Regions from separate parts of the Homo sapiens genome. Here region 2 is linked to region 1. The links are contacts of gene promoters, found by promoter capture Hi-C in blood cells and fetal thymus (Javierre and others, 2016). All regions are on one chromosome and are shown on one strand. Each heading gives the region's core, a stretch centred on a gene start or on the middle of the fragment in contact. The rest is flanking DNA. Distances are from core to core; before and after follow the strand shown.

What was found. Contacts are between HindIII fragments. The CHiCAGO score rates a contact against its expected background, and 5 or more counts as called.
Region 2: a fragment that was not itself captured here is called in contact with the fragment with the promoter of FOXL1 in region 1 in 1 of 17 cell types (total CD8 T cells); the score reaches 5.3 in total CD8 T cells.

The regions. Positions count from the first base shown.
Region 1 is chr16:86,576,873-86,581,019 of GRCh38, forward strand. It overlaps FOXL1 (forkhead box L1), which reads left to right and starts at 1,677. Exons shown (of 1, transcript NM_005250.3): 1 at 1,677-4,147. The coding sequence starts at 1,852. The coding sequence ends at 2,889. RefSeq lists an enhancer at 2,537-3,158. The HindIII fragment of the contact is 3,987 bases long and covers 1,547-4,147 here.
Region 2 is chr16:87,621,598-87,625,744 of GRCh38, forward strand. The region is part of intron 1 of JPH3 (junctophilin 3); the gene reads left to right. Among named protein-coding and RNA genes, the nearest start is that of JPH3, 21 kb to the left of the region's middle. The HindIII fragment of the contact is 261 bases long and covers 1,947-2,207 here.

The DNA.
Region 1 (4,147 bases), core at 427-2,926:
TCCTGCGACTTCCTTTTTGGTATTTTAAATTTACCCGCTCCCCTGCGGTCTACTTATTCCATGGGCTGGATACCCAGGAACCCCAAACACACGGGTTATTTCTGATTTTCTCATTTTGAAAAAGGATGCCCGCCACGTTTCCGTGTTCAGAGGCTACCTGGGCACTCACATCCTCAGCCGGGTGTGGCAGCGGCAGACACTCCCCCTACCCCTGTAAGTGCCCTCGGTGCCTCTCCCTCCTTCCTGGCCCACTGGCAGTGGGCCATTTCTACACCCACCTGCCATCCTCCCCCTTCCCTCATCTCTTTGACATGCTCACACGATTTGCTCAATGAGACGCCAGTTATCCGAATGTGTGTGTGTGTGTGTGGGTGTGTGTGTGACAGTGTGTGTGTGTTTTAATATTCAGGGGGTGGTCATAAACAGGAAGTAGTCACACTAGGTGCCTCTACCCTTACCCTAACCGGTGGAGTGGGGAGGAGAGGCCCCCTTCGAAATCAGCATGATTCAGGATTTTTTATTCAAACAGTGATGTGGGAAAATGTAAAATGAGATGGGGGTGGAGGGCCGCGTACACCCCAGGGTGGGTGGATACAGGGAGAGCAAGCAGGCTTCCCAAATGCCTAATGTAATCACGGGCCAGCTGCATGCACTTGTAAAGTTGTTATAACCCCCTCCTTGTTATAAACAGGAAAGCCCAGAATATAAAGCTGGAGACCCACATTCACAAATACCAGGCCTCCCGCGCCAGCTGCCACGGCCTCCTTTTATGGTGTTCCTCTCTTGCAACCTTGGCCCCATCAGGAGGACCTTACTTTTGCCCCCGGTTCTCTAAATGGGTTTATTTTGAAACCTTCCTCAATGGAGCTGTGGACCATGAGCTCTTCCCCAGGCCCCCAGTGCCTTAGGCCTTCCCTTCCAGAGAGACTGGGCTCCCAGAGTCCACTTTCCCTCCGATTTCCGGAGAGCCCTGGAAGGGAGGGTGTGGGAGAGCAGGTCCCTAGAGAGTGCCACCTCCTACTGGGTCTGCCACCTGTTTTTCCAGGGAGGGCCGCATCCCCTTCTCAGCAGACACTCAGGCTTCTTAGATACTCTCCCTGCCCCAATCTAAAAGGTTCCTAGGACCTCAGAAAGTGTTTTACTAGACTGTGGCATCTCGATATCTCCGGTTAAGCCTGGGAGAAGAAAAGACCTTTTGTGGGAGGCCCTGGCGTTATGGGGCTCCCCCAGGCCAGCGTAAAACTCATCCCTGCACACCCACCCCCATCTCCACCTCTCCTTCCTGGCTCAGCAGACCCTGCTCTGAGCCACCGCAGTCTACATCCTGCCTCACTGACTGTGTGTGCTTACAGCGTCAAGGGGTGGACGTGATATTTCAAACATCAGATCAGTGCGTTTATATATTGGGTGCCCGGAAATTTTTCCAAATAAACACAGCTTGATTCAACTTGGGTGGGCGGACTTATCAACAGACTAATTCTATAAACAAATGAAGGAATAGCCCCAAAACCGATTGGCTGGTATCAAAAAGACACGTGGAGGGAAAAGCTTGGAGTTTTTCAGCAATGAAATTTTAATTAATGTGGGTGGGCTGAGAACACAAGGACTGTTTATCATAGACAATTTATTTTCCAGGGCTAAGTCAACATATAACAGCAAACTTACAACAATTATTTAACATTTTTAAAGCCATGAAGAAGGGACAGAGCACGGAGCGGCCGGGGAGAGCGGCAGAGCCAGAGGCAGAGGCACGGCTGGCTCCCCGGGAGGGCCCTTGCGGCGCGGGGCGCAGTGCCTAGGCCGCCCGGGTCTCCTGCGTTGCGGGGAGCGCAGCGCAGGCTCTCGCTTGCCATGAGTCACCTCTTCGATCCCCGGCTGCCTGCCCTGGCCGCCTCGCCCATGCTGTATCTGTACGGTCCCGAGAGACCCGGCCTCCCTCTGGCCTTCGCCCCCGCGGCTGCTCTAGCTGCCTCGGGCCGGGCCGAGACCCCGCAGAAGCCTCCCTACAGCTACATCGCGCTCATCGCCATGGCGATCCAGGACGCGCCCGAGCAGAGGGTCACGCTCAACGGCATCTACCAGTTCATCATGGACCGCTTCCCCTTCTACCACGACAACCGGCAGGGCTGGCAGAACAGCATCCGCCACAACCTCTCGCTCAACGACTGCTTCGTCAAGGTGCCCCGCGAGAAAGGGCGGCCGGGCAAGGGCAGCTACTGGACGCTGGACCCCCGCTGCCTGGACATGTTTGAGAACGGCAACTACCGGCGCCGGAAGAGGAAGCCCAAGCCGGGCCCCGGGGCCCCGGAGGCCAAGAGGCCCCGCGCCGAGACGCACCAGCGCAGCGCGGAGGCGCAGCCGGAGGCGGGGAGCGGGGCAGGGGGCTCGGGCCCCGCAATCTCCCGCCTGCAGGCAGCGCCCGCGGGCCCCTCGCCCCTCCTGGACGGCCCCTCTCCGCCGGCGCCCCTCCACTGGCCGGGGACCGCGTCCCCGAACGAGGACGCTGGTGACGCTGCCCAGGGCGCAGCGGCCGTGGCGGTCGGCCAGGCAGCGCGCACAGGGGACGGCCCGGGGTCCCCTCTGCGCCCCGCCTCCCGCAGCTCTCCGAAGAGCTCCGACAAGTCCAAGAGCTTCAGCATAGACAGCATCCTGGCGGGAAAGCAGGGCCAGAAGCCGCCTTCAGGGGACGAACTCCTAGGGGGTGCCAAGCCTGGGCCCGGCGGCCGTCTGGGTGCCTCGCTCCTGGCCGCCTCCTCCAGCCTCCGTCCGCCTTTCAACGCTTCCCTGATGCTCGACCCGCATGTCCAGGGCGGCTTTTACCAGCTCGGGATCCCCTTCCTCTCTTATTTCCCCCTGCAGGTTCCCGACACGGTACTCCACTTCCAGTAAAGCAAACAATGGCACGGTTCTTCTCCCGGCCCAGCCTGAGCCTCCGCTGAGCGAAAGGCCACAGCTCCCACCGGCGGAGGATTTTAAAATGATCTTTGCCTGGGTCGGCCTGTGGGTTCAGGGAAGTGTTACCAACCATTGCGCGCAGGTGGGCGCGCTCGCCTGCCTTCTCCGAAGCAAACTTTTCCCAGCAACTGGGAGCAGCTACGGAGACTTAAAAGATCCCCGCGGGGTCGTGGGCACCGCACGTGGGCCCTGCAGGGACCTCCACCGCGGGAGATTCCTTGACGTTTGACCTGTCTAATGGAGTGTGGTCTTCAGCCGCCCACCGCAGGTCCTGCGAGTCCCGGGCATGCAAGGGCCCGCAGACCACCCAAGGCAGGCCTTACAGGTGCAGTTGAGGTCCTTTCGACCGGGGACCCCCGTATGACCGTCGCCTGCTTCGCTGTTGCCGTGTGGCTCAGGCCTTGGTTTTGAGCCCATCTGGGTGGTGGGTGGTCACAGCTGGGTTTGTTCCTGACTTGAAGTTGTGGAGGTGCCGGGGGTGACCCCGGGTTTTCAGGTTTTCTGAGAGATGTAGGGCCCGATGAGGATTTATGACCAATGTTCAGCTATAGAAGCTGATAACCACCCAGAGCAATAACACTTTTATTTTAAACAGAGACTTTTTCTCTTAATTTCTTTCTGGGTAGTAAAAAGAACATGTTTCATTCTTTGCATAAATACTTGACTCTAAGCATTGACCTTTGAAAACGCTTGTATTAACAATTTTTATTAAGAAAGTGCACTCTATATAACATCTTCTTGCATTACGATAGCTCATTAGCCAATACACATGCAGCTATGTAAGCCACAACAGCAGACGTCCTATCCTTTTGCTTTTGTTTTTAAGGGATCAAAATATTTCAAGGGATACCATGAGGAAGGGTGTGAGGGGAAGGGGATATGCCTTGGACAATGTCAGAGTTTTGATTTCCATGTTTTTTCAAGATCCAGGCTTGGTGGTCGCTATATTTTTCAGAAACAGATAATGAAAGACTACATTTAATTTAAAAAGTTGGGTGAAACAACCAAAAGCAGATGCAGAGAGAGAGAGGGATGAATGCGGGGGAAGAATAAGGGGACGTGCTGGTGTCCGCTGGAAGGGGCCTCTCTGGGCCCCAGAGGACCTGAGGTTTGATGGCAGGAATCTCCCAGACACTCCTGGCCCCCGCACCCCCTGCAGCCGCCCGCTCTTCCCTCCCAGCCCTGCCAGGCA
Region 2 (4,147 bases), core at 827-3,326, 1.0 Mb after region 1:
TGCAAACACCCGGGACTGTCTCAGACGGTGGATGCAGGCAGCCAAGCCCCCGGAAGGCTCCGGTTGAAGGGCCGGGTTTATTCCTCCCTGCAATGAGGGTGGACACTCCCCCAGGAACCACGGGGCAAGAGGGTGTTGGGAAGAGCCCCACTAGGGTTTGGGGTTTGGGTGGGTGGTGGGGAGGGGACAGTCTAGGGACGTAGGGCTCACTAGACCAAGTGCTGTTGGAAAGGGGGCGATTCTCCTGTGGGTGCGTTGGTCACTGTCGCCTGTAGACATGGGAGACCTGCACCAAAATAATGCGGAGATGGGTCAAGAAGCAGCCGCCCCTCCCCTTAGTCGAGAGGGGGGATGGTTGGTGATCGTGGGTGGCACAGTGACCTGTTTCTATCTCACTCTACTGTGATCTCAGAGTGACCTTGTCTGGGGTCACTGGGGTGTTCTGGGAGATGGTTTATATCCAACAGAAGAACGACGCAGCCTGGCAGGAGCTCCAGGTGTCAGGGGGGGGCCCCTTTGGGGTGGAGGGGATGCCTCAGAGCCAGCCGCATGCCACCCCACAAGCTACCTCTCTGCCGCCGTCTGCCCCAGAGCTGCCTGCCTTCCGAGGCCTCAGCTGGTCCTGTGCGTCCCTGCGTCTCCAGGACTCTTGGGTGATGGCTCAGGGGAAGTTTCCAGAAAGCCCAGCCATTTCCTCCTCTCCTCCTGGGCTTGGGTCTGAGGTCAGCTTCCCAGGGGGCACCCAAGCCTCCGTGAGCAAGGACAGAGAGTGGCTGGAGTGAGAACGGGTGCTGCTGACCTTTGGCGGTGGGAGGGTGTCTCCAGCTGTGTTCCCATTTCTCAGTGACTACCAGGTGCTGTGGCCCTTGGCTGCAGAGGGGCGTGCAGGCAGCCTCTCCTTCCTGTGAAGCAGCAGCTGTGGCAGGGCCGGGAAGTAGAGCTCCCCTCTGTGAGGCTGTGGCTGGGGTAGGAGGAGAGCTCTCCCTTCTGCGAGGCTGTGGCTGGGATGGAAGTCTGCCAGAGGCGGGCTCAGAAGAAGTTCCATGAGGAACTGAGGGCTGGGACCTGCAGGAGGAGCTGAGGGTGCATGGGGTCTGGGGGAGCCCCAGAGATGGTCAGGGTCTCCTCCTGATAAATCAGACCCCCCCCCGCCCCACCCTGCCGCTGAGAGGCCTGGTCCTGCTCTAAACCTGGAGTGGATGGGGAGCGTGGGCTGGGGCTGGGGGGCTGGGGAGGTGGTGTAGCCAGTGCCCTGCCCCAACTCAGCCTCTGGTCACCCTTCCAGGGCTGGCAAGGCATTGGGGGTATGAGAGGGCCCTGGGGTCCCAGGGTCTCAGAGGACTTGCCTTCTCTGCGATGGCCGCTACTACCTGGGTCCCACAGGGGGGTAAGTTCAGAGGGGGACCTGGTGGAGGTCGGCTGTGGGCAGGGGAGCCACAGGAGTGTCCAGGCCCCTCCCAGGCCAGCCCCACAGATTCTGAGGCAGCAGTGGGGGCCTCAATGGAGGAGTCCACTCTGCCCACCCCGGATACTGCCCAGCCAGCCTGGGTTCCAGCGTGGGCCAAGCTCTCGTCCTGGTCTCCTGGGAGCTGTGTGGTCCTGCAAGGACCTCAGCACCTTCCTTGCTTTGAGCATCCCTCCCCCAAGGCCTGGCTGACACTCGGAGCCAGTATCCATAGAGGGCTGCAGGGGCAGGCGAGGGTGGACACTGATGTCCTTGGCTCATTCCTCCCTGGCTGGCTGCTCTGATGTCCAGCAGGGTGGGCGTGAGGCTCATGGGGGGCTCCCCAGCCAGGGCAGGACCTGGGGTAACCCTATCCTGGGATGTTTGCTCCCGCTGTGTGGGGGACATGCCGTTTCCATGAGTGACAGAGTCACCGATGTGGCCAGTACCACTGTGGGCTTGAGGCATCTTCTAGTTTAAGGAAATGTTAAATTTCAAGTAAAGCTTAGTGAAAATAAGGATGCAATTTCATTCCCCAACAAAACAACCTCTATTTCCTTCTGTGAACCCCTTGGGAGCTGCAGACCCCGAGTTCCGGACCCCCTCACCTCACTCTCCTCCTTCGGAGCCAAAGTGGTGCCTGAAATCTGAGGCCCCATCTCTGAGTCCTGCACTGGTCCTGGCCCGAACACTCCCCCACAACGCATGGGCCACAAGGACCCTCTGGGCAGATTTTGGGGTGTCTTTGGAGGTTTAGGGGCAAAGCTTGAAAACTGTGGGGTCCTCCCTGGGGACCACATGCCCAGCTGTGGGGTCCCCCGAGGCCGCAGAGCAAGCTTTCTGGAAGATCCTCCTCCTTTGAGAGCCACCATGGAGCCCCCATAATGGGAATGGAGGGTGTTGCCATTAAACATGGCCTTGGCGTTGCCCAGAAGTCTAGGTGTGTCCCTGTCAGCTGGGAGGGGACAGGGTAACTGTGCGGCCCTCCCCAGGGCTGAGGCTGGGGCAGCCTCCAGAGGCCAGGTTGTCGCTGTCACTCCCCAAATGGAGGGTCCCCCTCATTCCCTGATTGCAGAAAAAGGGCTCCAGTAAGTCTGGCTTTTAAAAAATACAGCTTTGCTGACATATGTTTCACACACCGTACAATTCACCCATTTAAACTGTACAGTCCAGTGGTTTCTAGAATATTCAGAGTTGTGTCACTCTCACCATAATCAATTTTAGAACATTTTCATCGTCTCAAGAAGAAACCCTCTAGCTAGCTACCCCTTCCCCATTCCCACGGCTCCCCACCCCTGGTGACCGAGACTCCATTTTCTGTCTTTGTGGGTTTGCTGCTCCTGACGTTTCGCATGCGTGGAGTCATACGCTGAGAGGCCTTTTGTGTGTCGCTTCTGTTGCCCAGCGTTGTTTTCAGGGTTCACCCGCGTGGGAGCTGCATGAGTCCACTTCTTCGTATCGCTGAGTAATATTCCACTGCGGGGCACCGCGTTTTGTGTGAATCTGCCACCACTCAGGATGGCTCATGGGTGGAAACAGCCTAAAGCTGGCAGAGGTTTGGGCTGTTTGCCAGCCCTGGGTCACTTTTGGGCTGTTTCCACCTGGGGGCTATCCTGAGTCGTGCTGCTGTGACCATTTGCGTCCTTTCGTTTCCTCCTGGGTGGAGATTGTGGGGTGGCCTGGCTGGGTCGCTCTGGGCCCAACTCTCTGAGAAGAGCTGTTGAACACATACCCCACAGCTTTTTTTAGTTTTTATTTATTTCATTTTATTTTTTGAGACAGAGTTTCACTCTTGTTGCCCAGGCTGGAGTGCAGTAGCGTGATCTTGGCTCACTGCAACCTCCACCTCTCGGGTTCAAGGGATTCTCCTGCCTCAGCCTCCGAAGTAGCTGGGATTATAGGCATGCGCCACCATGCCCGGCTAATTTTGTATTTTTAGTAGAGACAGGGTATCAACATGTTGGCCAGGCTGGTCTCGAACTCCTGACCTCAAGTGATCCACCTGCCTTGGCCTCCCAAAGTGCTGGGATTACAGGCGTGAGCTGCCTCACCTGGCCTTATTTTATATACTTTTTAAGACGGAGTCTCACTCTGTGAGCCAGCACACCTGGCCCATGGCTTCTTTTAAAAAGAGACTTCTGGAAGCTGAGAAGTCTTTTCCAGGGCTCCACCTGGCGACTGACCACTGGGCATGGTGAGGTCTGCGTTTGGAGGAAGTGGGGTGACAGTGACAGCTGTGACTATTGGAGCACACAGTCGGTGCTGGGCAGGTGGGTCATTCCTGAACCCTCAGTGTTTCCCTCCTCGGGGGTCCTGGCCAGTCACTCTCCTCCTCCACACCAGCCCCCAGCAGCTCGCAGGCTGCCTGGGCCCAGCCCCATCATCAGCCGCTGGGCACCCACCTGAGAGGTCTGAACCCTGCCCTTGGTGCTGCACGGTCACTTGCCATTTTCGCAGAGGGGCCCCCTGAGCAGGAGGAGCAGGGCCAGCATGCACACTGCAGCCAAGGTCCCAAGAAGGAAGTGGCGAGGAGGAGGAGGAGGACTGGCCCCACCTGTTGCCCTATGTCTCACAGCGCAGACTGGGGGAGACGTGAGGATCTAACAGGGGTTCCTGGGGGGCCTTCATCAAGCTGTAATGAATGTTGTGCCAAACCCCTGTCAACACCAGTGGGTACAGCACAGGGTTCAAGGGCTGAAGAAG